Regions from separate parts of the Homo sapiens genome. Here all the other regions are linked to region 7. The links are contacts of gene promoters, found by promoter capture Hi-C in blood cells and fetal thymus (Javierre and others, 2016). All regions are on one chromosome and are shown on one strand. The core of a region is centred on a gene start or on the middle of the fragment in contact, and the rest is flanking DNA. Distances in the headings are between cores, read along the strand shown.

Region 1 (3,594 bases), core at 170-2,669, 8.3 Mb before region 7:
AATCATCTCCTTGTTTAGCGTATCCCTGCTGTATAAGCTTCCTGCCTTTTAGTTGCTTGGTTATCAGATTGATGGAGGTGGTATCACAGTGCGTGTGTTCTAGGAATACTTATTTTACTTAATTATTGCTTCAAAGCACAAGAGTAACGACGCTGGCAATTTGGTTATGCCAAAGAGTAGCTGTAAAGTGCCTCTTTTAAGCAAAAAAAGGAAAGTTCTCCACTTAATAAGGAAGAAAAGAAATCCTATGTTGATGTTGTTAAGAACTATGGTAAGAACAAATCTATCTGTAAAATTGTGAATAAGCAAAAAGAAATTTATGCTAGTTTTACTGTCACACCTCAAACTGCCAAACTTATAGCCATAGTGCATTATAAAAGCTTAGTTAAGATAAAAAAGGAATTAAATTTGTGGTTAGAAAATGTGAACAGAAGCATGCTCAGATTGAAGGCAGTTGGATTCAGCCTCCTCACGGGGCCTTGGGATATACACCCTTGGATAAGGAGAGGACTGCTATAAAAGGTTTTAGTATTAAGTTGGTATTGCATTTGTATCACCAGACCACTTTCTCCCCATTTTCTCTTTTTACTTTGTTGCTAGTGTTAATGATAGGGTTGATTTACATTACCTTTTACATTACCTACCTTTTTTCATTCACTGTTATTCACATATATTGAAAGACAATTGTTCTGCTTTTTTCCTCTTATCCTCAGCTAGCCTCCCTAACCTCAGGTAGAGGTTTTTCATGTTCCAGTGTTTGTCCTTTTTTTCTCCCCCCTTGTTTTTATTCCCTTCCCACATGGCTTTTCAATTCAGACTGAAATGTACTTGAGGACCAAAGTTAATACAGTTTTATTCTGTTAGGGATTTTTGTTAAATAAGTAGAGTTTCAGCTGCCCTTGTCACACACAAAAAATAAGATAGATGATAGGTGTTAATCTCCTTGACTAAAATAACCATTTTACTATCTGTGTGTATCCTATAATGTCAACTTGTAAACCTCAAATATACACATTAACATTTTTTAAAAAAAGAAGTTTCACCAAAAAAGACACTTCTATTTAATGTATGTCTTATTTCTTTTACCTTAAGAAATGTTTCTCTTAACCTTTCTCCATTTTCAACCCCATTTGTTTGCTCTTCTCTGCAACAAAAATCCTCTAAAGAGTTTTCTATGCTCCATGTTCCAATTCCTCTTTTTCTACCTCTGCATCTTCATTGGTATATTTAAAAGATATCTTGAACTCAGATGTCCCAGACCGAACTCCTTTCCTCCCAAACCTTTCCCATTCTTTCTCATCTGAATTGATGGCAACTTTATACAGCCAGTTGCTCAGTTAAATCTTTGGAGTCATCCTTGACTCCTTCCTTTCTCTTGTATTCCAACAAATCTGTTGGCTTTTTCTATGAAATATATCTAGAATTCAACAGTTTTCTACTATTTCTGCTATTAGTATACTGATCATCTCTTGCTCAGATTTTTGTTATTACCCACTATCATTTCTTGCCTGGATTATAGTAATTGTGTTCTGTTCTCTCTGCTTTTTTCAGTCCTTGCCTCCCTACAGTCTATTCTCATATGTCAGCCAGAGTGATACTTTTAAAATATAAATAAAAAATTGTGTATTTACATGTAAGATTCTAAATGCAATATGTTATGCTAGATTGGATCCTGAAACAGAAAGAGGTTATTAATGGAAAAACTGGTGAAATCCAAATAAAGTCTATGGTTTAGTTGATAGAAATGTATCAGTGTTGGTTTCCTGGTTTTGATAAATGCACCGTGGTAGTATAAGATGTTAATATTAGAAGAAATTGGGTGAGGGGTATATGAGAACTTTCTATTATCTTTGTAACCCTTCTGTAAATTCAGAATTATTTCAAAATAATATACAGAAGAATAAAACATTACTTTTTTGCTTAAAAACCTTTCGTGAATCATTTGATTCATAGTAGAAGCTAACAGCCTTACGTTGGCCTACAATAGTCTACATCAGTCTTGTCCAACTTACAGCTCACAGGCTGCCTGTGGCCTATGATGGCTTTGAATGCGGCCCACCACAAATTTGTAAACTTTCTTAAAACATTATGAGATTTTTTTTTTTTTGAGCCCTTTAGGTATCATTAGTGTTAGTGTATTTTATGTGTGGCCCAAGACAATTCTTCCTCCAGTGTGGCCTAAGGAAGTCAAAAGATTGGACACCTCTGCTCTACATGATCTGGTCTCCCATTACCTCTCTGACTACATGTCTTTGTATTCTCTCTCCCTTTGTTCCAGCCATACTTACCACCCTGTTTCTTAAGTACACTAGGCCTACTTCTACCACAGGGCCTTTGCACTGACTGCTGCTTCTTTCTAGAATGCTTTTGGATCCATACAGCTATTCCTTCATAGCTTTTACATGTTGTTCAAATGTCACCTTTGCAGTAAAGCATATCCCAACCTCCCTATTTAAATTGAAGCTTTGCAACTTCCATAGCCCCTACCCCTATCTCCTCCACCCTGTTTTATCTCCTCTTTTTACTTCAGCGCTTATCATTATTCTATATATGTATTACATATTTGTTACATGTATTTTTAATTGTGTTCCCCTATTAAAATGTAAAATCCATGAAGGCAGGCATTTTTATCTGTTTTGTTGTCTTATGCCACATTCTAAAGCATTTGTCTGAGGCATAGAAGTACTCAGTAGGTTTTGTTTGAATGAATGACTGACTTGATTGGGTGTTTGAATCTGTAATTTTTTTTTTTTTTTTTTTGAGATGGAGTCTTGCTCCGTTTCCCAGGCTGGAGTGCAGTGGCACAATCTCTACTCACTACAACCTCTGCCTCCTGGGTTCCAGCAATTCTCTCTTCTCAGCCTCCTGAGTAGCTGGGATTACAGGTGCATGCCACCATGCCCAGCAAATTTTTTGTATTTTTAGTACAGACGGGGTTTCACCATGTTGGCCAGACTGGTCTCGAACTCCTGACCTCGTGATCCACCCGCCTCAGCCTCCCAAAGTGCTGGGATTACAGGCATGAAGGTGCTGGGATTACAGGCATGAGCCACCGCATTTGACCATGAACCTGTAATTTTTGATTTGCAGTCTGAAACACTGAATTATTTATCACTTCCATGTATCATGCTATTTCTTGCCTCCAAGTTTTTACTCATGCAGACTCTTCTATTTGGAATGCCCTTCCTTATCTTTCTTCCTCTACCCCTAAGTTGTTTTCACCTGACCATTTCTCTTTAAAGATTCGTATAATATTAGATGTAACTCAAGGAAGCCTTCCCTAAAATGTCAGGCCAGGGTAAGTGCTGCTTTTCAGAGGAGCTCCCTTCCTACCTCTGCATTTTACAAACTTATATTATAATTCTGTTTGGGTGTCTCTATTTCAGTAGAGAGTTGCGAATGTGTCTTACTGATCTTTGGGATATCAAATCCTGGTACATAGGAAGTAATCAGTGAATGTTTTAATGCATTAATGGCATGATCAAGGACACTCAGCTATGAAGCATAGTTTTGATTCCAACCTGGGTCTTTTGAGTGTAAAATCAATGGCTTATTTGCTATACCTTGTTTCTTAGGAAAAAGATGGCTGTCTTT
Region 2 (3,846 bases), core at 1,347-3,846, 7.4 Mb after region 7:
GGGGGCCCGTTGTCTACGAGCGGGTGATGAGCCCCCCGCAAGCCCCGGGCTCTCTCCCTCCGCGAGTGCATTGCTCACGCCAAGCTTTGGGACTCTTCTCTCACACCCAGGTCCTGCGTGTTCCGAAGTTCAGGGGCCCCCTGATCCCGCTGAGCCCCCTCCAGGAGCGAAAGGGTTAAGAATGATGTAAGTACAGGCACTTGATTTCTCAAGTCGCCCGCTTGGCCCTCTTCCAAGTTGTACTTTCCTTATTTTCTCTCCTTTCCTTTCCTTACTGTTCTAACGCTTTTTAATAAACTTTCACTCTTGCTCTGAAAAAAAAAATGATGTAAGTACAAACCACGAGCTGCTTGACGCTGAGCTGTTGGACTCCGGGCTATTTCAGCCGCTGCTTTGGGTACACAGTGGCCGGGGAGCAGCCGGGGAGCCCTTACTCTAGAAAGGATTGCACAAATCGCAAGCTTAGGTGATCTGTTAAGCAGTCAGAGATTCTCCTGTTAGATTTCTGGAAATGGAGACATATTAACTGGAGAACAGTTAAAAACATCACGTATAGGCTCAGGAAATGAAACTGCATCTTGTTTAGAATCCATTAGTGTTTCTGGCATGTGTTTTAATTCTGTCCACTTGCACGTTCATGCCGTAGTATGCTTTGCTGGATTCTCCGGATGTACTGTTCAGGTCTCCTCCTTCCTTTCTGAAAACAAAGAGAAAGGGAGAAAGAGTACCAGTGGCAAGAAACAGGGTGGATGTGTGAATTACACAAGTCATCAGCCACTTCATGATTTTTTTTCTGATTAAAACATAAAACTTTTATAAGTCACCGATTTTTTTGTTTGTGTTCTAGCTCCCTCCCCGATTTTTCTTTGTACAATATAAAGTCGTTTGTAACTTGCAGCTCACGGGCTTGAGGAGTGGCTGCGGTATAAGCGACTATTCACTACGCTCTTGCTTTCCAAGCCAATTCCTGATCTTGTGAACAGTACGAATTTACCCGCGAGTGTGTCAACTGACCTATGTCTTGAAAATAGGAACCACCTTGCGGTTTACTTGTGAAAATTAGCATTTTCCTCTAGCGGCTGAACACTTATGCAGCAATAAAAAGTGAATTGTTAGGCTTATAAATCTCGAGCTTGTCAAATTTTACAACAGAGGAGCAATAAAGCACCTTATAGAGATGAAGTTTTTCCTCTGAAGAACAGTTCCGTTTAACGACACCAGGATTTGCAATGACTCGAGGACGCCCTCTATTGATAGGAAAATCTAGAGCACCCGTGTACTTATGGAACAGGATATAGGGGGAGGGGAGTAAAAAATCATAGAAAGTCACGAGTGGAAAGACCCAAACCAAACAGAAATTATTGATCCTTAACTATTGAGTATATGCTTTGAAGTATGATCAATAAAGTGAGATGCTGCTTTTATAGGGGTCGAATTAAATCTTGGGTTAAGAGAAAAAAATGTAGTCTTTGTTAGCCAAATACTTTGAAAATCAGTATTATGTTTGATTACTTTTTTAAGATGCTTCTTAGTATGTCATGAACTGTATCTAATTATATGAAGTAATTGCAAGATAGTAAATTTTTGCTCTAATAATACTTAGTCCGCAGCATTATCTAAAAATGTCATATAACTTCCTCCCCAAAAGTCATTTCTCCAGGCAACTGTGAAGCTATTATTAAGCGTATTATGGATATACACAGGCTTGGATTATATTGTGGATAGTGAAAGGTGTGTTTACCCCTTAAGTCATCATAGTATGTAACAAGTAAGTAATGAAAAGTTACAGTAAAAACAGATAGGCATCCTTCATTAGGGACCTAGTGGTTTGGGCAATTCAAAATGTGTCTAATAAGTGAGCTGGTGAGACTGAAGGTTTGCCCCTCAATTATCCTAGTCCATTGATTAGCTCATTTAAACATGTGTGGAATATCAGCATGTCCGTGGTTGATAAGAAATTCCTAATTAGAGATTCTGAGTAACATAGCGGGTACAGTTGCCAACTACGATTTGGATGTTAGTGGATTTTAAATGGCAACCCTGTGCTGTTTGGGGAAAGGCAAAGGCGAGGGCGGTATCAAGTGTCTCTCAGCCTTGAGGTCATTCTTGAGATTAGATACCACTTCACACCTACCGATAACAAATTGGAATCTATCATCAGTCTCATAACTGCTTTTCTGTCTCCACTTGGCAGCCTCTTTCTTTGTAGACAATTGTCTTTTTCCTCACTTTCGGACCCATCCGATCATAAAAGGAGAAAGTGAGCTGCCATTGAATTAATCCGTAGAAATTTGTGGAAAATTTAAATAATCTGTAGAAATTTGTGAAAAAGCCACTGAGCAACAACAAATCGTGGCATAATTACACTGCATAAAAACCCACCACTCTCATTAATTACACTGTAACCGAACGTTGAAGTTTGCCCACTCTTAGACCTCTCCTTGCCGCTTTCAGGAAGGGAAATGTCAAACTAGAACACCTGAGCCTCGCACAGCTGCCAGCGAATTCCGGCGGCAGTTCGCGGGTACCTTCCCAGCCCATCCTATCTGCTCCGGACCGCGGGTGACATTCAGATTTCCAACACCGCCCCGAGCTTGCTTTACCAGACACCCTCAAACGACTCGGAACGCGGTTCCGCAGATGTGATTGGCTGAAAGGGGACCTGCCGCGCGGCGCTCTGTAAAAGCGCCTGCTTCCTCCAAGGAGGTGGAGCTGAAGCTGGCAGGGCCAGGGCAGGGAGGGGTAATTAAATTAAAAAAAAAACTTGGAGGGAAGATGAATCGGATCACATTAATTCAAGGAGAGGTCAAAGGCCGGTACCTTTGTAACGCCGGCGAGAGTAAGACTTGCGGTCGCCCATTTCTGTTGGGCGCGAGGAAACAGTAAATCGCGGAAGGGGGTAGAGGGGGAAGGAAAGGGAGCGCGAGGCAGCATGCGGCGCAGGAGAGAGGACTTGGAGTCGATGGACAGGGAACTCGAATTACACTGAGCGGGCGGGGGAGAGGGCCCTCTGGGTCCTGCGATTGGCAGGCTGAGTCGGGCTGACGTGCGGTCACAACCAATGGGGAGGAAGGGAGGGACACGGCGGGGGATTATGGCGTCGTGGATTGGCGGGCACAGGGCGGGGCGGGACGGCAGTGCGGGACTGAGATTGATCGACCGCGGGGGCTGCCGCGCAGAGATATCCGGGCCGCCGGTGGGTGGTCGCTAGGGCTGGGCCAGCCTCTTGGAGGTCCACGCCCGCCGAGCCCACGCTGGCTGGGGCCGGGGTGCCGGCGCGCTCGGGACTCGTCTCAGCAGTCGCTCACGGTCTTTGTGTCTTCTCTTCCGCCCCTTTCCCTGCCTGCCGCCTCCGGCCGCCACGATGCCCCTGCGCCCCGCTGCTGCCGCCGCGGACTGGCTGCGCCGGCTGCGCGCTGCTTGCTGCGGCGGTGGTGGCGCCCCATCTGCTACACGGGCCTGAAGAAGGAAGAAGAGGAAGCGAAGCGCGCCCCCCGGCCCATGCCGCAGCCACGGGCCCAGACCCGCCACGGCGCCCGCGCCGCCGCCCTCGCCGGAGCCCACGAGACCTGCATGGACGGGCATGGGCTTGAGAGCAGCACCTTCCAGCGCCGCCGCTGCCGCCGCCGAGGTTGAGCAGCGCCGCAGCCCCGGGCTCTGCCCCCCGCCGCTGGAGCTGCTGCTGCTGCTGCTGTTCAGCCTCGGGCTGCTCCACGCAGGTAGGACGGGAGCGCGCGAGGGGAGCCAGCCCCGGGGCCTAGGGCTTTGTTCCCAAATAGCCCCAGGTCTCGAAGGCGCTCGCCGGGGCGGAAGGGCGGCGTGGCGCAACGGGAAAGGCCTCCCGAG
Region 3 (3,785 bases), core at 549-3,048, 9.1 Mb before region 7:
CTGAAAAAGATTATCTTTTCATATTAACTAGAGAACTAATGAGAAACTGTTTCTATCTTTTCAATCTAACCTCAAATGGCTGAGCTGAAGTCCTGTGATGTCAACCTAGTTTTCTGCCAGTCTTAATTTCATTAGCACAATGGGGGAAATTTCTAGACCTTTTACAGTTATAAAAGTAGACTGGAGTGGCAGCGTGGGCCTGTAGTCCCAACTACTTGCGAGGCTGACGTGGGAGGATCTATGCCTAGAACGTCAAGATGGCCAGCCTGTGTGACAAGGGACCCTATCTCAAAAAAAAAAAAAGAAAAAAGAAAAAAGGTATCTGAGGTAAGAATTAGAAAGTCTGGGCCGGACACAGTGGCTCACGCCTGTAATTCCAGCACTTTCGGAGGCCGAAGCAGGCATTATCACCTGAGGTCAGGAGTTTGAGACTAGCCTGGTCAACATGGTGAAACCCCATCACTACTGAAAATACAAAATATTAGCTGGTGTGGTAGTGGGCGCCTGTAATCCCAGCTACCTGGGAGGCTGAGGCAGGAGAAATGCTTGAACCTGGGAGGCTAAGGTTGCAGGGAGTCTTGCGCTACTGCACACCAGCCTGGGTGACAGAGCTAGACTGTCTCAAAAAAAAAAAAAAAAAAAAAAAAAGTCTGGGTTAAAATGGCTCTACCATCAAATATGATAGAACTATATGAAATTATTATTTTAAAAAGTCAAAACCAGTCAAATACTGGCAGTTTCATGTCTCAATCTTAGGTGTATGACCTCAATTAATTCTGATGCAAGTCACTTCTCTTCACCTTAGTTTTATCAAGTCGATAAAGTTCAATAGCTGACACGTGCCATTTACTTATAACAACTCCCACAGTAAAGGTGTTTGTGTCCTTTACTTCATCATTGCTAGTATCTTCTCCAATTCCTTCCAGGCCAACGTTAAATTAAAACCTTAACTACCTAATTCCCAAAAACTAATTTTACCAACTTTTAAATAGAACAAACGCTTTGCAATTTTACCCCACAATGCCCAAATGAATACTACTACACAAAAACCTGCAATTACTTTCAAAACAAGAATTCGTAAGTTCATGTCTCGAATTCCTATAATAAACTAAAACTTGACGGGAGCAATGGACTTACACTTTTTCCAGCACGATTCCTTTTGCATGAGAAGCACCTCCAAAAGGGTTGGCCTTTAGGGCTGTGCCCAAATGAGCTTTCTTATACTGTTTATCATGCCACTTCTGGTCTCGTCGGTGACTACGGAGCTTCCTAGCAGTACGAAGTCCACGACACTTGCCTAAAAATTAAATATTTTAGTTCTTCCGTAAAAACACGCCATCTACGTGTTTCCCATCTTCTAAGACACTCGCCTCACCTGGAATAAACCCTTAAGCCGATTGGCTCTCGTACTATTTATTGGCCTGTGGGCCAAACATTTGGCCTTCAAGTTGCCCTGAACCGACTAATAAACGTTCGAAGAGGGCTCCGGAGAATGTGTTCTCCCGAAGGACGAGGCCCCGCTCGAATGCCCGGGAGGAAGCGCTGGCCTCCCTGCGTCCCTCGGTACCCCGACCTCGGCGGCCTCCACGCCTCATGGGCCCCTTCCGCGCCGGACCACGTGCCTCCTGGAGCGGCGCTTCCCCGGCCCTCCCCCATGGAGCCTCTCCATGGCATCCCCCGCCCTACTCTATTCGCATCCGCCCGCCCGTCCCCAAGACCCCAAGTCCCGCTTGCAGCGCCCTTAAACCGGCCACAACAGCTCACCCATCCTGTCGGCGCCACGGGCCTGAGCGAAAGAGAGAAGCACCGCAGGAAGGAGCCACAAGCCACCGCGAGCAAGCCCCGCCCAGCCAAGGACCCCGCGCCGCTGTCTGCGCCGCGCCTGACCCGAGGCTGGGGTCTCTCCTTTGAAAACGACGCGTTTGCATCACTTTCCTGAGCCAGAATCTGCGTCTTATTTAATTTGCAAGAAATTCAGAGATATCTAATTTGCATGGTTTTTTTTCCCCCTTTTTCTTTTGAATGCTGGAGACCGGAGGAACATGGACTACCAATCCCAGAATGCGTTTTATGGGACCCGCTCACCGCGCAGGCGCTCTTGCCCAAGCCACTGAGAGCGGGACGCGGGGCTAGGTCAGAGTAGGAAGGAGTCGCTGAGCTGAATCTTTGTGGAGTGGAGTGGGGCGAGAGTCCTCCGAGTAGTCTGGAAAATTAGACTTCTGAGCCTTAATTCATACTTATAAGCAGCTAGTAAATTGTAAAATATAGTGAAGCAATGTAGTGTAGTAACTAAAACCCCAAGCTTTGGAGCCAGATTGGGCCTTTAACCCTAAAGTTGCCGTTTATTTTGACTGGCGAGTCATTTACTTATAGATTTATTTATTTTTATTTTTATTTTTTTCTGAGACAGGGTCTCACTCTGTCTTCTAGGCTGTTGTGCAGTGGTGCGATCTTGGCTCACTACAACCTCCGCCTCCCGGGTTCAAGCGATTGTCCCACCTCAGCCTCCTGAGTAGCTGGGATTACAGGCTTCCACCATCACGCCTGGCTGATGTTTGTATTTTCAGTAGAGAGGGGGTTTCACCATGTTGGCCAGGCTGGTGTCGATCTCCTGACCTCGAGTGATCCGCCCGCCTCGGCCTCCCAATGTGCTGGGATTACAGGCGTGAGCCACCGCGCCTGGCCATTTAATTAACTCTTTAATACTGTTTCTCCTGTAAGATGAACTAGCTGTGAGAGGTTTCTGGGATATTGGTTCACTCAGCAAGGATGTTTAAAAATGCCTTCTATGTGCCAGACGCTGTTGTAGGTACCGGGAATATGGCGGTTAAATTAAGAGGGTGAAGGTTTCTGCTCTGATACAGTTTATATTCTAAATGTGAGAGGACAGACCAGTTAGATAGATGTAAATTAAATAATTAAATAGATGATTTTTACATACTGTAGAGCTATAGAGAAAATATAGCTGGATGGGTGATAGTGACTTGGGGATGGGGGTGGCTACTCTGGATAGGGTAGTTTAAGGTGACATCTCTGTGCAGATGTAGAATGGGCTAGTGCTTTCTAAGAACTGAAAGATCAGTGAAGAAGGGGAGCATAGTGACTGAGGAGTAGTGTGGCATTAGATGGGGTCTGAGAGTTACACAGGAACATGTGGAGCCTGTAGGCCATGGTAAAGCCTTTTTCTACTCTTCTGGTGATTTAAAGCCATTGTAAAGTTTTGAGCTTGGGAGTAGGTAGCAAAATAAGATTTATATTTTTATGGGGTTACTCTGGCTGTTGAGAGGAGAAAAAGACATGAATCTGGGAGGCCACTTGGGAAGGTATTGCAATAGTTCAGATGAGAGATGGTGATAGCTTGGACCCTCAGTGGAGACAGTAAAAAGTGGTTGGGTCAGATACACTGTTTGGTGGTAGAATGAACAGAATTTGCTCAGGACTGTAGGATGTGAGAGAGGAGTTAATTACAGCACTATGATTTTTGACCTCAGCACTTGGGTGAGTTGTAGAGTTGTGAGTTGTGAGTTGGGTGAGTTCCAAAGTGGGAAATACGAGGAGAGGAGCAAATTTCAAAGGAGGAAATGAAGAGTTCTGGTTTGGATGTGTTAAGTTTGAACTGTCAAACATCCAGGGATGTGAAGTGGACAGTTGGATATATGATAAGAAGCTGAGGAGTAATCAATGAATAAATAGTATTAAAACTGTGGCTCTAGTTGAGATAGCTTAGGTGATGACTGTAGGTAGAACAGAGATTAGAGTCCTGAGCACACCAAAGTTTAGTGGTA
Region 4 (4,158 bases), core at 1,620-4,119, 7.5 Mb after region 7:
AAAAATATAATTAAAACCTGTATTATGAAAAAAGGTTCGTATATCAGAATTTTTTTAGTATTTGGATAGCTAAGAGGAAAACCTGAAAACTCTGCTACCTATGAGGAAAACTAAATAACAACAATAACAATAAAGAAAAAAGTCAAGTTTTCAACTCTCTTCATAGTAAACAATTGATAACAAAGTGCTTACTTACCTTGATTCTCCACTACTGTTTCTAACACTTTCTTCATCACTGTGTCCATTCATTGTAAATTATTATCAAGAAGTTTTAAAGTAAAATATAAATCTTCCCAGTTTAAAAGATGAATATAAATACTGACTCCTTGAATATAAAAATTCACAGATGAATTTTCTTCAACAGTCACAGGTTTTCTGGGACTCTCCTTTGATTCACCTAAAGAAAATATATTAATAAATTAACAAAATTTCCTGCAGAAAAAAGGTAAATTAAGCCCTGTCTAAAACGTATAAATCTACGTAGGCCAATTAGACTACAGCTGTTAAGGAAGAAGTGGGGGCCTTTTATTAAATACTTAAAATATCTAGACTTGTAATAACTACACTCCTGACTGCTAACTAGAATTTAGTATGCTACTGCTAATATACTTCGGACAGAAAAAATTAAAATATTTGTGGAGTGAAAGGATTTTTAGAGACTAACTGCAACTAACAATGTTTTTATAGACTCCTAAAGCAAGGTGATACGATGTAACATATGCATACATCCCAAGAGTAGATAACGGAGTCTTATTAGATAACTTGGTCGAATAAATGAAGTGGGGGGGGGGGTGGGAGGAGGTTACCTTTAATCAAGCCCTCACTCCTATCACCAAGAACTTCATACACTTGAGTGAGAAAGTTCTGAAAACGCTCCCATGGGAGGAACAGGCAAATAAAAGATACCATATACTCTCAACAAAAATGCATAGCTCAAAATAAATGTGTTATTTAACAGGTAAACGGATAGTGGGATGATAACATTTAAATAATACTTAACCAGTTTGCACTTGGTTTTTATTTTGTGAAAAAAATTGAAAAGGTAATAGAATATACACTATATCTGATTTTTTACGTAAAAAATTTGGGGCAAGAATAATGAACCAAGACACACCATTTCCACCTTTAAAGATTTCAGTACAACACTGAAGAATCACCTACAAGCCATCCACGAATAAACAAAGGAGATCTCTGGCAGGGGAGGGAGAGGAAGAAGCGGGGGAAGGAGACGTCAGATCCTTCCCCAGCCAGAAAGTACCGAGACAGCCAACTGAGAGCAGAGCTGTCCTCCGACCTCAGCAAAGAGAATTCACTCCTACGATTATTTCCATTCCACAAGAGAGGGAGGGAAACAGATTGTTACCAACTCAATGATAGCAAAGTCTGCATCTGGATCAGGATGTTAATTCTCTAGACTACTGTCCAGTAGACTCTGCAAGAACAGGTTATCTAAAAAGTAACCGTTCTACTCAACATTTATTCCTAATGTTAAATATTAATCTCAACCCTAGTCAAAGTGCCTTACTGAACAATTAAGTCTTAAAAAATCTAAGTATGTTAACAAACTGCCTTTCCCGTTTCTTCCTTTAAAAAGTTCACTCCCCTTTTCGTTCTTTCCTTTTCACCTTCCTTTCGTCCCTCAAAATGGCTTTCTCTGTACATTTTAACTTCCTTTCCCCTCCATCTCCCTTATCCGAATAAGTCCTCTGAGACCCTTTTCACAACCCTGAGTTCTGAAGCTCCAAGCGCACACAGCGCTGTGTCCTCTCAAGCGTCTCCACAATGACTACCCTAAGTTATTAAACCTCTTCAATCCTCTGTCTTTTAGCAGTTGCTTTGCTCCTGCTAAGTTTTTAAAGCGGCACTCGAAAGAGGTTTGGAAACCATCCTCACTCATCCATCCAGCGCGCTCCAATCAGCCTCCCTCGCGGACCTGCCCCCCTCTCCCAGGGCCTCCATCCCGGTCCAGGAGTCCCTCTTCCCGCCTCAAACTTCCCGCAGACCCGCCCCGCGCCCTCCCAGGCTCGCCCGAGCCGCCGCCCCCTCCCCCTCCCGCCGCTCCCCACGTGCTGGGAGCCCGGGTCGCGGCAGGACCCACGCACCGGCTAAGTGCTAGCCATTCGCGGGTCTCCTCTCGCGGCCCGGTCGGCACCAAGCCGAAGAGGCCGGGGCAGGGCCGCCGGGCCGGCGCAAGGATGCGTTCTGCGGCCCCGGCCTGTACTCGCCGCTCACACGCCCCCTGCGCGCCAGGCCCGTACACCGCCACCGGCACTCACAGAGCCACCCGGCCTTCACCCGGCCGCTGGGCCGCCGCCTGGGCACCGCGCCGCGCCCGCCCTCCGCCCGGCCGGTTCCTGTCCTCTCCGCCACATCCTGACCCGCCCGCCGCCCCCTTTCTTACCGGCGGGCTTGGCGGGGCGGAGGGAGCCGACTCGGGTGGACGGCCTCCCCCGCGCCCAGGCCCGGGATCTCCGCCGCCCAGTCCTAGGGCTCCGGCGTCTCGGGGTAAGCAAGAGTCCGTGCGGGGGAGGGGGAAGGGGACAGACGCGGAGGGGAAGGGGAAGCCCCGGTCCGCAGCACCAACGCGCGATCCCCTGCGGAGTGGAGCTAACAATTCATTATTGAAGCACCAAGGGCGAGGGCAGCAAGAGCTATAAGTAACCAGTCGTCGCCGCCGCCGCCGCCGCCGTCGCGCGCGCGCTCCCGCTCCCTCCGCTTATCTGCCCCCGGCAGCCGCCATGACGCCGAGAAAGCAAGCGAGCGCAACCGTCTCCGTCGTAGCCGCCGCCGCCACCGAGGTCGCCGTCGCCTCCGCCTCCCGCGCGACGTAAGCGCCTCTGCTCACTCCCCTTCCCGACAGAGCGCGAGGCGGGCGGGCGCGCGCACGCCGAAGCCTTTCTGCTCGCGCGCGGGAGGCGGGAGGGACTACGTTGAAGGGTCGTGGGCGTAGGAAAAAAGCGATTGGTGCTGGGGCGGGGCGGGGGGGGCGAGTGCGCGCACGCGCACGAATGGGAGTGCGCACGGCGGATGCGCAGAGGCTGTCGGACTCTGACTGCGCGGAGACCGCTGGACTCTGGTCGCGGCCTTAGTCCGCTGATCCTCGCTTGGGTGCCCGCCCTTAGCGGCCCGGCGTTGAATTCCGGGAAGTGGGAGCTTCAGGCTCGCTCCGTGCGGGTATGGGCGCTAATGTCACTTGGGATGGTTGCGCAAGGACATCGCGGCGGACACTGACAAGGAACCGGGGAGGAACGGGGGTGGGGAGAGACTGCGATGGGACTCGGGAAGCCGGGAAGGGCCGCGCTGAATAAGCCTAAGGGGCCGGGTCGCAAGGAGTGTCGGGTAGCACAGGCCTCGGCTCAGTCGGAGCGCCAGGCCTCAGGGTCCGGGCGGGGGCTGCTGCGTCACACCAGGCAGCCTGGGAACGCAACTGTTGGGCAACCGTGGTGGCCTCTCGCCACCTCTTACGCTTGGGCGATCTGCGATTGACGCATCCTGGGAGCTGATGTCCCGCACGGGCGGGGCGCCGGAGGAGGAGAGAAAATAGAGACCCGGTTGTTGACAGCCTGTGATGCCGCTTGATTCATGTGTGGGTGGCCTGGTTTAGAAATGTACCACCCTTCCTTTCTAGGTTCCTCCCCGGAGGGCGGGGTGACGGGTGCGGCGCCGAATCGCAACAAAAAACGCTGCTCGAGGGATGTTAGTAACTGTCTCAGCTTAAGTTGCTGCCTTTTAGCTTACAGTTTGTATCGTAACTGTAATTGTGGATCTTAGTTAAATCCCTTCAGTGTGTTGGAAACATATTTTTAAGTGTATTTTTGAAACATACTTAGAGCATTTTGAAATGCTTTTTTGAAAGCGTTTTTTAAATCAAAATTCTGTTACACTTTATTTTTTTCAGTCTGCAGATGAACTTGACTCACTCAAGGTTAATGATTTTTGTTTTTTATTTATGTTTGTAGAGGCGGGGTTTTGTCATGTTGCTAGGTTGGTGTTGAACTCCTGAGCTCGAGCGATCCACCTGCCACTGCCTTCCAAAGTGCTGGAATTACAGGCGTGAGCCACGGCGCCCGGTGGCCGAGGTTAATAATAATTAAAAGTTTCTAATCCCATTGTTCAGTTATTTGATTTGGTGTAAAGGCGCACTTTCCAAGTCAGATG
Region 5 (3,985 bases), core at 877-3,376, 7.7 Mb after region 7:
CCAGGGATAGGAGAATAAGTTGTCTATGGCACTCGAACGGTCTACACTATCCAAGTAAGGTAACCAGCTAAGGCACTTTCAAAGTAAAACCAAACAGAAAGTCACGGCAGATAATGCCACTTTCATCACTGGTAATTACTGGCCTTAGAGTTGTAATGAATGGCTGCTACAGAATAAAAGGTAGGTGGCAATTTATGCAACAGATCATTGTTCATCATCAGCAGTATGGGTGGCACTAAGCAACAGGCAGAATTATTTTTAAACCCGCGAGGTAAAGTAGATTAAAGGTATTATTAATAGGCTAGGCCTAAAGGAACAGTGTCTTAATTATGGACTCTTTTTCCTATCCTTTCTTAAAGATATTATATTTCTACAACTGATGAAGGACTAGATTAGGCTTAGGCTAGCAGTAGAGGGAACACTCATTGCTGCATTAAGATCAAAGAACCTTCCGAAATTTTGGTTGCTCCAAGTACCAGAATCAGCTGTCATTCTGTTGGAAGCAATAGGGAAAGGGTAGCTCACAACATTTTTTTAAAAAAGTATTTCTCAATCAGTCCACCATTTACTGGACTAGGCTACAGTGAACTGCATAATTTTATGGAATCTCGTTTTTCAGGGTATCTTGTTAACCAATGGGCTGACATTCTCTTTGCAGGAGCTCCACCAAGTGGTCATCCAGCTTGTGGGCGAAAGTCAGAAAAACAAATTAGGAATCCTAAGAAAGACTGACTGATAGCCGAGTAGAGCAGTCTGAAGGTAGATAAACGTGAACCCTCCATCCATAGGGAGATTCAGATACAGGCTTCATGTTTAGACAAGACATCTGCTTTTCCTCACCATTTGTTTTTGGTAACTTTCTGGTCCTTATATGAACTATGCCTGCCCTTTGACCTCATGACCCCATATGCTTTGAGCCCTCCATTTTCTCCTAATCAATTAGTCTCCTTCTGTCTTCCCATTTTCCCTGTTCAGCTCCACACACTGGTGTCCACTACTTAAATTATGCTTTCAATATTACTTTCAACTCTTAATCCAGCCATCCTGTTTCTCTGACTCTGGAACTGAGCAGCTGAGAGTTCTTGGAGAAAAATCACACAGCCATACCAATTGATGTCACTGTATGTTGTTGCTTTCTGACCAAGGCTGAGTCCTCAGTTATGGTGAAGGTGCTTCTGATCAACTGACAGTGGGTATTCCAAACATTTACTTCCCTTACTGTCAAAACCACCAACTCTTCTTACACTCAGCAAATGATGATTCTGTCCTTTTCATTGTGAAAAGGCAAGGGCAGAAAGTGAAAACGGCACCTTCCTCTCCCTCTTACTTATTCGCTTATTTATTGGCATTTTTACTTCTCCTTCCTGTTGGAAAAGGTGCCCATCTAACTCGAGGCTCATTTCTCAACCTGTAGATTGGATTCCATCCTCTTCTGTGTACTCAATGACTTTATTATATCAATCATCGCCCTCTTTCCTGTTTTACTTCAGAAAATAAACAGAACAGTGGTTTGTCTTATTGAAAATGAAAGCAAAAGTAAAATTACCTTGGCAGTTTTGGGTCTCTAATTATAAGCCAAAGAAACAAATTGAGAACAACTTATGGAAAAAATGATATTCATTGGAAATATACTGGTATAATGCAGAACAGAAGAAAATACTAAACAGTCAAGCTTCCTGAGGGCAGAAAGTACAGGACCACTGAAATGAAACCGTGGACATGCATAATCATGTATGTTTACTAAGGTTCAACTACCTTTCCTCCTTGTGTCACCACTTAAGATTTAGCTCCTAGGAAGGAAACATTTGATTGGCCAAGCCCACCAGAAACATGTGCAGAGGAGATGCTCCTGATACCTGCACCATTGAATTCCATAAGGCACAGTTCAGGGAACTTTGCTTTGTCCTTATTTTGTTTGATTTATCGGTAGCAGTTCTCCTTCTGGAGTCCTTCTCCTTTGTTTTCTGTGGCATTATTCTTTCCTTAAAAAGAAAAAAGATAATTCTTTTTAGTCTCCATTGTAGGTTCCCTTTTTTTCTGCTTAAACAGTAAGTGTTATCTTCCTCATGGGTTCAACTTCGATCACTGTTATATTACAAACTTCCTCCTGCCAAATCTTCGTTTTGAGTTTGCGATGGAACCTACGATTGAATTTCCAATAAAATTCAGTATATCTAAAAGTGAACTTATGTATTTCAAACCTGCGCTTTACTTGAATGCCACATTTTCATAAATGGCATATCTCTTATCCAGTCACCCAATCCACTTCCCTGGGAGTCTTCCTAGGTCACTCTCACTTATACTCAATCAATCCCTAATCCCTGTGGCTTTTAATTCCTTGGTATCTCTTGTTCTCCTCTTTCCTAAACTCATAACCACTTTTTAAATTAAGGTCTTAATGACTTCTCACCTAAATTGCTACATTAGCCTCCTCAAAAGGTTTCCTTACACATCATACTCCGTTTCTTACAGAGTGATCCTTCTAAAATGCTAATCTGCTCTGCAAACTCAGATTCAGTCCTTTATCTTTCAGGATAAACTTCAAGGCTTAACCCACACATTCTGTCTTTGGCCACTTTCCAAGCTTCAGGGATGGCTACTTCCTTACTGCTATATTGTAAAACAAGCAGGTTTCCAGTTGGAGGGACTAGAATTGTTTTTTAACCTTGACTGAATGTAAGAATTTCTGGGGACATATTAAACATGCAGATTCTTGGCCTGACCCTAAACATATTAAATTGGAATCTCCAGGAGTGGGGCTTATGTCTCTACTGATTTTTTTTTTTTTTTTTGAGACAGAGTTTTGCTCTTGTTGCCCAGGCTGGAGTGCAGGGGCGTGATCTCAGCTCACTGCAACCTCCACCTCCTGGGTTCAAGTGATTCTCCTGTCTCAGCCTCCTGAGTAGCTGGGATTACAAGTGCCCGCCACCACGCCCGGCTAATTTTTTGTATTTTTAGTAGAGACAGAGTTTCATCATGTTGGCCAGGCTGGTATCAAACTCCTGACCTCAGGTGATCCACCCGCCTCGGCCTCCCAAAGTGCAAGGATTACAGGCGTGAGCCACTGTGCCTGGCAGTCTCTACTGATTTTTATGATCAAGCCAGTTTGTGAATTAATGATTGACTGTTTCTAGGCAGTCCTTTTACTTATGCTGTTTGTTCTGCAATTCCCAATCCCCTTGTCCTTCAATAGTTTAGTTAGTGTCACTTTACAGGTGACTCTCATTCTTACTTAGAGGCCTCTTCTCTGTGTTCCTGTACCGCGTAGGACTATCTCTGTCTTAGTACCCATCACATAATATTTGACTAACTTACCTATCTTATAACTGCTCTAAAAACTTATCTTTGTTTTCCCAGTACATAAAAGACAAACAGTAGGCATTTGGCAAAAATTACTTTGATATGTAAAAACAAATAAAAAGCTCACTACACTTTTTGCTGTTATGGATTCTTTCTGTTGCTTTATCTCTAAGGAGTTACTCATAAGATGAATATTGTTCAATTACTTAAAAACACCATTATTACTATGATTCCTTTAAAATCATATTATAGAATAATATTTTTTGATATGTGAAAATATTATAATGTACTACTAAGGGAAAAATAGGCTAAAATTTATATAATATGACTTTTTTGGTAAAAATTTTAAAACAAATTAAGTTAAAAATGCATATATAAAAACATATTGAGAAGACATACATTGTAATTTTATTACTCTTTGATTATGAAATAATGGGTGATTTTGTATCTACTTTCTATCAGAAGTATGTACATCTAAAACTTTTTTTATTTGTATAAATTTAAGGGCACAAGTGCAGTTTTGTTACATGGATATTTTGGATAATGGTGAAGTCTGGGGCTTTTAGTGTGACCATCTTCTGAATAATGTACATCGCACCTATTAAGCCACTTTTCATCCCTCACTCCCCTCCCACCTTCCCATCCTTCTGAGTCTCCAGTGTCTCTTACTCCACACTCTATGTCC
Region 6 (3,727 bases), core at 710-3,209, 9.5 Mb after region 7:
TTCAGCGGTTTTTCACGCTCAGAAATGATGAGGCCCAATTCCAATCTTCCCTCCCGCCGGAAGTAAGAAGGGGAATTCTGAGTTGCTTGTCGCCTGACAGCTTAAAATAGCAACGAAAACAGCCAGCATCTTTGCTTAAAAACCCAAGGTTCCCGCCAGTGTTTACCATACTTCCTCTAGAGTTTAAGAAGTTAAGAACTTCCGAGATCTTGAATTTCCTCTTTGCAGCACAGCGAACGGGGTCGGGTATAAAAATGCTCCAAGGAGCAAGTAATTACGAACGTTTATTGACACTACAAGTGGCCCACAGGGAGCCTTTCGAGTTTATTGATGTCTAGGCAAATCCAGCCTGCATTAATGCATTTCTGTTAGATTGACTTCTGTTAGACTCACTTTTCTTCTGGCAAAAACTGCCAGAATAAAACAGCTTCTTATTTAAGTTAAAAGGGATCCGGGGCTGAGGGCAGGGGTCGGGTGGGAGAGGGATGCATGGTTAGGATGCTAAATTCTCAAGGATAAACTTTGATTTTTAAACAGTAGACAACTATATTTTAGATTATAGGTAAAACATCACTCTCTGTCAGGGATAGAGTAATATGCATCGTTTCATTAAACTCATTATTTCTTAAGCAATGGTTATGGGGCAGGCAATGTGTGCGGAGATGGGAACACAAAGATGAATAAAACTTAGCATCTAGTCAGACACAAATCCTACTCACTCAAAGGGGGCATCTTTTAAAAATAATAATTTACAGTATGGCAACATGAATCAGAAACATCATTTAAAATATATATGGTATCTGAGTAAGCTCCTGGGTTGAAGCAGATGGGGTGTTTAAGCCTTTTGAAGCCCGGAAGATGAGTTTCCGGGTGAAGGGGACACACAGACTCCTGTTTTCAAAGCTGACAAGGAAGTAAGCCAAGCAGAGGGAGGATAGAACATTGCAGGTGGAAAAAGGAGTATGCGCAACTCCAGAGAGTAATAAAACTCTGGTGCTTTGGGGCAACTTTGAAGTGGCTCAGTACTGTTAGAAGGGAAAGTGGTAAGGGAGAGTGCTGGTCCAAAAGTTTCGGTGTACTCATAATATTCTATGGCTCCAGAGTGTGGAACAGTCTTCTGTAATGAGAAAGCCACAAGAAAATCTTCAAGAGGAAAGTGAGTATAATCTATATTAAGCTTTAAATTACATTAGGGGAAACTACTTACCTAGCCCAAACAGGAAAAAACAAACAAACAAACAAAAAAAGAAAAGAAAAAAAAAAAAAAAAAGAGCGAAACGAAAGCAATCAAGAACTAGTTATAGGAACACATAAGACAAATTTAAATGTCCAGAAGAAAAATAAGTGAACTCTCCAATTGTATAATGCTGCTGTTTCTGAATTTTTTAAGTACAGAACTTTTTATATTAAGGCGAGCAATTCTGAATGACTGATAACTGTTCAGCGAGACTCCAGGAATTCTTCTTCCCAAATTAAAGCAATTTAGTGTTTGGAGTGTAATTGAATGCCATTTGTTTAATATTGTTAGATTCGTTAAATATATAGCCATTATAATTTGCCAATTAAAAAGAAGCCATACAGGCCAATACTTAGACAAAAGTGAGGACAGCATGGTTTTTTCTCAATATGTAAATAGGTGCAAGAACTATAAATATTGGATAAAAAGTCTTTTGGAATTAACTTCTATTAGAATGCTTAGTTTGATGTTCCTGAGCACCAAAAGACTATAAAGAAGTCTTTTGGAATTAACTTCTTCTATTAGAATGCTTAGTTTGATGCTCCTGAGCAAATAAGATTGTTTCTAAATTTTCATTTGATCTTTGGATTGTAAGTTCTTCAATAAAGAGAATATATTTGTCTTTATTCAGCACAATTCTACAATTATACAATAGCCTATAAATAAATAATGTGAGTAATGGCAGCTGGTTTTAAAATGATACTTTATCCTTTGACTTAATGTAAATTCATGTTTTCATTGCTGGCTGTACTCTCAAATCTAGCTGGCAAGAAATGAATAGATACTTGCAGTCTCATGGTGGAGTTTTTAATGACCCATGACATTTTTAATAGACTTTTTTTTTTTTAGAAAACATTTAGGTTTATGGCAAAATTGAACAGAAAATAGAGAGTTCCCATATAACTCTACCTTCTCCCCATACTCAGTCTCCCTATCAACATTCCTCATCAGAGCAGTACATTTCTTTTTTTACATTCAATGAAACTACATGTACATATCATTATCACCTACAGTACATAGGTCATATTAGGATTCATTCTTGGTGTTGCACATTTTATGGGTTTTGCCAAATATATACTGAACATATATTCACCATTATAGTATAATACAAATTAGTGTCACTGCCCTAAACATCCTCTGTAATCTGATTATTCATGCTTCTTTCTCACTCCCGGTCACCCCAGGCTCTGACTTCCCTAATGTTTTTACTGTCTCCACAGTGTTGCCTTTTCAAGTGTCATATAGTTGGAATCATAGAGTATGTAGCTTTTTCTGATTGGATTCTTTAACTTAATAATATGCTCCATTATTTTCATGGCTTGAAAAACAAATTTTTTTTCATGGCTTGAAAGTCCATTTTATTTTAGCACTAAATAAAATTCATTATATGGATATATCAAAGTTTATCCACTCACTTACTGAAGGACATCTTTATTGCTTTCAAGTTTGGGCAATTATGAATAAGGCTGCTGTAAACATCTGTGTACAGTTTTCTGTGTAGATGTAAAGCTTTCAACCCAGTTGGGTAAGTAGAAATAAATAAGATTGTTGGATTATATGGTAAGAATATGTCTAGTTTTGAAAGACACTGCCAAAGTGACTTCCAAGGTGGCTGTACCATTTTGCATTCCCATCAGCAATGAATGAGAGTCCTTGTTGTTTCATATCCTTGCCAACATTTGCTGTTGTATTGGTTTAGATTTTGACCATTATATCAGATGTGTAGTAGTTGTATCTTACTGTTGTTTTAATTTGCAATTCCCTGATATTATATGATGTTGAGCAATTTACACATGTTTATCTTCTATGGTAAGGTGTCTGTTCAGAACTTTTGCTCAGGTTTTTAATCAGGTTCATTTTCTTACTCTTGAGTTTTAAGAGTTCTTTCTATATTGTGGATAACAGTTCTTTATCACATCTCTTTTTGAAAATATTTTCTCTCAGTTTGTGGCTTGTCTTTTCATTCTCTTGACAGTTTCTTTCACAGAACAGAGGGTTTTAATTTTAATGAAGTCCAACATATTAATTATTTTATTGATGATTCCTTTGATGTTGTATTTAAAATCTAAACCTAAGATAAACTAGATTTTTAAGATATGTTACCTTTTAGGCATTTTATCATTTTCTGTTTAGGTCTATAATCTATTTTGAGTTAAGTTTTGTGAATCATGCAAAGTTTGTGTCTGGATTATTATTTTTTTATCATGTCAATGTCTAATTGTTTCAGCACCATTTGTTGAAAAAGCTGTCTTCTCTCCATTGTATTGACTTTGCTTCTTTGTCAAAGAAACAAAAGGTTAAATATATTTGGGTGGGCTATCCTGTGCTTTCTATTGTCTTCCATTGATCTATTTGTCTATTCTTTCACCAATACCACACTCTCTTGACTGCTGAAGCTTTATAGTAAGTCCTGAAATAGGGTAGCATCAGTCTTCCAACTTTATTCTTTTCCTTTAATATTGTGTTAGCTATTCTGGGTCTTTTGCCTCT
Region 7 (3,902 bases), core at 793-3,292:
TTATATTTGTCCTCACATCTCGTTGTTCTACTTTTCCCCACTGCAAGTCTTAACCCCTTGAGGAAAAATCTGTTTTCTTTCATCCGTTTCATAAAAGGCTGCAATATTCAGAAAGGTACAAACACAAAGTCATCTATCTGCTTTTCAACAAATACCAAGGCTGTCATTAGGCATTTGCATCTCCTATCAGTGTTAACACTTGGAGAGATTAATTAGTTATTTCAGGATGCAAAGTACCTGTATCTAACTACGAAAATCCTGCTAAAGAACTGAGTTCACCTTAATAGTTTCAAAAATAATGCATTAATACTGTCCCTCAAAGCATCCTTCATTTCTCACTTGCCTTAGTCATCAGCACTTCTCCAGGATGTACGTTTTTAATATAAAAAATAAGGTAAAATATGTCTCTAATTTTTTTTCTGAAAAATCGCCAACATCTGAACTAAATACTGCATTAAAAAGGAGAGGCACAAAAATTACATAACCAGTTTTAACATTATATTCTTCTTGGGCTAGGAATTAAGTCATCGCCACCACCTGACGCGTGTAACCAATCTGCTGAGAGCAGAACAAGCGCCCCTCCTCACCACCCCCCAGAACTGGTCCGAAACAGGATTGAACCGCTTCTAACAAAGGGTGGAAACTTAGAAAAACAAGCCTAGAGTCTCCTATATTTCCACAATGTAACCATTTAAACAATAGATTGGAAATCTCAGGACTCCTTCTCCTTTTGACAACCCTTTATCTCTCTCTTCTAACCAAAAATCAAATCCAGTGTGCCCTATACTTTTCAATTCCATTTGACTGGCATGGGTTTCATTGAATGCACGTTCCAAAGTTAGACATGATGCTCGGAAAAGAAAATTACTGATCCTAAATGGCTTCTAAACCTGACTCGATACCTATCATAATGACAGATAGTCATTCCTTTAAAATAAGGAATGCTGGGTGTAAATTTTTAAAGGAATGGTAAAGAATAGAGAAAAAACACGTGGGGTGTTGATACCATATGTCAAAATAAGCCACAGAAATCTTTTATGAAAGAACAGTCATCAATTATTTAAAGTCTTTTGCATTCCAATATTAAAAATGAAACACACCCATTAAGTCTCTTAAAAATGTTATTACATTTCTTGATCGAAGTTCAGTTTTTACATCTTAGGTTGCAAGTAAAAGGGCAAAAATCTAAGACTGCAGCTTTTACCAATTCATTTGAAAATATATTAGTAAAACGACTGAATTGGATTCAAACAGAATTTATAAGTAAGGTGCAAATGGACTACAAGTGCGTGTGGCACAGACCGAGCCGGGTACAGAGGTAGCTGAATAAGTGTAGTTTGCAGTCACTTTGCAGATGCCTGCATGCATTACGGCTTAACACACGATGAACGTCAAGGAGAATCCAAACCTTCCAACTTTGCTAACCTTTCTCAAACTGCTTAGTTATGCTAGGAGTAGAATCACGTTAATTCAGAAAACTGAAAAGGTACGTTTCCAAAGAAAATGAGTCCAATGACTTATGAATAACAAAAACTTACCTCTTTCGTGCCCAATTAAGATGTCTTTATGGTTGAAATACTCTACTTCTTCAGTGTAATTCTGTGTATAGGCAGTATTGGAGCCGGCGTTTCTAGATTCAGTCCAGCGTACTTTCGCATGTCCTCTTGCATGAATTTTAAGAGATTTTACTCTGATTTCCCCAGTAACTTCTAAATTTACCCTTCCTGAGACGGTATCCCCACTAGAATACACAGGGACATTGCTGTCATTAAGACAGTCAAAGCTTATTGTCAAACTCTTCACCTTTCCCAGCACCATGTTTATAACAAAATCTATAAAAATATAATGTAAGACAAAAAAGTCAAGATCGCATATAAAATGTGATCTTCACTTAACACTGATCGATATTTTTGCCGTGCAAAATGCTTGCAGGCCGGATCAGTGATTCTCTACAAATAGTTCATTGAGATTTCTTAAAAAGTCAGGGCAGCAGAGGCTGCTGCTCCGCGCTCCCGCTCGTCTCAGTGGTCTCCTTACAAAGACGGGCGGCTAAAAGCTGCCAGCTCACTTTAAGAGCAGCTTTGTGAAAAACAACCCCAGTGCGCAGGCGCAGGCCGCGGCTGCTGTCCGCCCTCCCTGCGCGCCCCCTCCCGCGCCGCGCCGCGCCGCGCTCGCTCCCTTGCCCGCTCGCTCCCGGGTACAGTAGGTGTAGAGCTAGGGGAAGGAGATACTGGAGCTGCTGGCCGGCTGAACCTGACTTCTCTTCATTGTGGGCTCCTATTGGTAGGCAGGCTACCGTATACCCTCGACGTGCTATCTGGAGCCCGTTACCGAGCGCACTCTACTAGAAAGATAATGGCAGAGTGGGGTGCGAGGGTACAAGGGCTGGGTGGGGAGTTTGCAAAGCCAAGTTAGGATAAACTGCAGCGACCAGCCCGAAGCGTGCGTTACCGGCACTGCAGCGTTTTACCAACTGCCTGGATGGGAGGAGGAAAAAGTGATGTGTGAAGAGAGATGGGGGAAGGGAGAAACCGGTTGGGCAAGCGGCCGATTGTTGAGCATAATCTAACGAATTTCCAAAGAAAACGTAATAAAACCGGACAAGAAATATTGTTCATAGACAAGAGCATACTTTGCTTGGATTTTTTTTTTTTAAACCAGTACTTTGTAGGCAGGTTGGAAATGAACTCAGTCGAGGTCAAAGGAACCTTAATCCTTTGAAGAGCGAGGTAGAGAAGCAAGTACAATGTAATCAATAGGCTTTGCTGTCTCCTCAACTTCTTTCTCCTACATTGCTTAATTAGCACCGAAAAACAACCAAGTTGTTTCCAGGATGACACGGGTGGGGGCTGGGGGAAGCTTGATCACTTCCTCGAAGGAAGAAAAAGTCCTTTTAAGACACCACCTACGGCTAGATTTGCAGAGTAAGACATGATTACAACTCCTGTGTCCAGAGGAATAAGAATAGAGTTCGGCCTAAAAAAGTACTACCTTATAAAAGGCATATGACATAGTGGTTTAGCTGACATATTGTTTGCAACAGAATCGGAAAATCTTTGTTAGAAATTAGTGAAGCGCATAAAATTGTTTTTAAAAAGCATGATTTGGTATATAAATAGGGATTTAACTGTGTGAAGCTTTAATTTTCGGCCGAGAGCCTTGGACCATTTAACGTAGTAATTCTCATGATACATCTTAAATATAGGTACATTTCTCTTTTTATTGTGAATGTTTGGTAAAAAATAGCAGTGCTTTCGTCACATCACACTGGGATTCAGAGCATAACAGCATAAACTCATCTAGATTACTGGCAATCAACAGAACTGCCTTACAAGAGAAATGTAGAAAGAAAAAATATGAATCTGGTGCTCTCTCTATATATATATGTATGACCAAAAATACCTTGGAAGATTTTTGGCTGTCCGTGTCTAAACGTTTTAGATTCTTTTGCGTAGTGTATATGGATAGGTTGAGCCTATGAGTCACAATAAACTAAACTTATTGGTCTTGCTGTTTTATTTCAAAAGAAACTAAGCTTTTGGGGGTTGGATTTTAGTTGACAAGGCAATATCTTGGACTCAACAGCAATATATAAAGAGTATAAATATGCAAACTAGACAATTAATGAGCAGGCCATTTATTTCAGAGTTTAGATCGCTATGCATAAAATTATAAATTTGCATATTTAAGTGGGAAAAACAGTCTTATCTTTTCCCTACCTCTTGGTTGACACCTGGTGGAAATTCTAGGTAAAGTACCTGGGGCCTTGTACTAGCTTTGATTACAGATACTACTTGTGTTTTTTCTCCACCTAGTGGTAGAAGTGGTGAATTTCCTAGAATGACAGCTTTTCCTCAGCATAAGGTCAATGATATTTAATAAGCATTCGAAAACCACTGAGC

Evidence for each region. Contacts are between HindIII fragments. The CHiCAGO score rates a contact against its expected background, and 5 or more counts as called.
Region 1: a fragment that was not itself captured here is called in contact with the fragment with the promoter of ARRDC3 in region 7 in 1 of 17 cell types (total B cells); the score reaches 7.5 in total B cells.
Region 2: a contact is called between the fragment with the promoter of RGMB-AS1 here and the fragment with the promoter of ARRDC3 in region 7, in 3 of 17 cell types (non-activated CD4 T cells, activated CD4 T cells and naive CD8 T cells). The highest score is 13.4, in non-activated CD4 T cells.
Region 3: a contact is called between the fragment with the promoter of RPS23 here and the fragment with the promoter of ARRDC3 in region 7, in 1 of 17 cell types (total B cells). The highest score is 5.7, in total B cells.
Region 4: a contact is called between the fragment with the promoter of CHD1 here and the fragment with the promoter of ARRDC3 in region 7, in 10 of 17 cell types (fetal thymus, naive CD8 T cells, total B cells and 7 more). The highest score is 29.9, in fetal thymus.
Region 5: a fragment that was not itself captured here is called in contact with the fragment with the promoter of ARRDC3 in region 7 in 1 of 17 cell types (non-activated CD4 T cells); the score reaches 16.8 in non-activated CD4 T cells.
Region 6: a contact is called between a fragment that was not itself captured here and the fragment with the promoter of ARRDC3 in region 7, in 1 of 17 cell types (activated CD4 T cells). The highest score is 5.3, in activated CD4 T cells.

What each region holds. Positions count from the first base shown.
Region 1 is chr5:83,080,635-83,084,228 of GRCh38, forward strand. The region is part of intron 1 of XRCC4 (X-ray repair cross complementing 4); the gene reads left to right. Among named protein-coding and RNA genes, the nearest start is that of XRCC4, 4.9 kb to the left of the region's middle. The HindIII fragment of the contact is 2,083 bases long and covers 379-2,461 here.
Region 2 is chr5:98,770,488-98,774,333 of GRCh38, forward strand. It overlaps RGMB-AS1 (RGMB antisense RNA 1), which reads right to left and starts at 2,597. Exons shown (of 2, transcript NR_033932.1): 1 at 2,135-2,597; 2 at 1-697. RGMB (repulsive guidance molecule BMP co-receptor b) reads left to right here and starts at 3,176. Exons shown (of 3, transcript NM_001366508.1): 1 at 3,176-3,719. The coding sequence starts at 3,584. RefSeq lists enhancers at 1-374, 2,753-2,802, 3,538-3,846 and a silencer at 3,023-3,652. The HindIII fragment of the contact is 10,132 bases long and covers 460-3,846 here.
Region 3 is chr5:82,276,556-82,280,340 of GRCh38, forward strand. It overlaps RPS23 (ribosomal protein S23), which reads right to left and starts at 1,799. Exons shown (of 4, transcript NM_001025.5): 1 at 1,765-1,799; 2 at 1,138-1,297. The coding sequence starts at 1,768. It also overlaps the pseudogene ATP6AP1L. RefSeq lists an enhancer at 1,790-2,119. The HindIII fragment of the contact is 8,285 bases long and covers 1-2,300 here.
Region 4 is chr5:98,926,138-98,930,295 of GRCh38, forward strand. It overlaps CHD1 (chromodomain helicase DNA binding protein 1), which reads right to left and starts at 2,870. Exons shown (of 36, transcript NM_001270.4): 1 at 2,402-2,870; 2 at 197-397. The coding sequence starts at 249. It overlaps CHD1-DT (CHD1 divergent transcript), which reads left to right and starts at 2,425. Exons shown (of 4, transcript NR_151718.1): 1 at 2,425-2,505. It overlaps LOC100289230 (a long non-coding RNA gene), which reads left to right and starts at 2,997. Exons shown (of 1, transcript NR_036530.1): 1 at 2,997-4,158. RefSeq lists silencers at 2,014-2,643, 2,904-3,113 and enhancers at 2,887-3,785, 3,274-3,603. The HindIII fragment of the contact is 7,543 bases long and covers 1-4,158 here.
Region 5 is chr5:99,031,999-99,035,983 of GRCh38, forward strand. No RefSeq gene overlaps it. Among named protein-coding and RNA genes, the nearest start is that of CHD1, 100 kb to the left of the region's middle. RefSeq lists an enhancer at 1,426-1,485. The HindIII fragment of the contact is 912 bases long and covers 1,671-2,582 here.
Region 6 is chr5:100,904,514-100,908,240 of GRCh38, forward strand. It overlaps LOC107986437 (a long non-coding RNA gene), which reads left to right. Exons shown (of 2, transcript XR_001742825.3): 1 at 1-1,156. Among named protein-coding and RNA genes, the nearest start is that of ST8SIA4, 3.1 kb to the left of the region's middle. RefSeq lists an enhancer at 1-171. The HindIII fragment of the contact is 1,569 bases long and covers 1,176-2,744 here.
Region 7 is chr5:91,381,275-91,385,176 of GRCh38, forward strand. It overlaps ARRDC3 (arrestin domain containing 3), which reads right to left and starts at 2,043. Exons shown (of 8, transcript NM_020801.4): 1 at 1,539-2,043. The coding sequence starts at 1,818. The region is part of intron 1 of ARRDC3-AS1 (ARRDC3 antisense RNA 1); the gene reads left to right. RefSeq lists a silencer at 1,950-2,259 and enhancers at 2,113-2,630, 2,510-2,809. The HindIII fragment of the contact is 1,076 bases long and covers 1,782-2,857 here.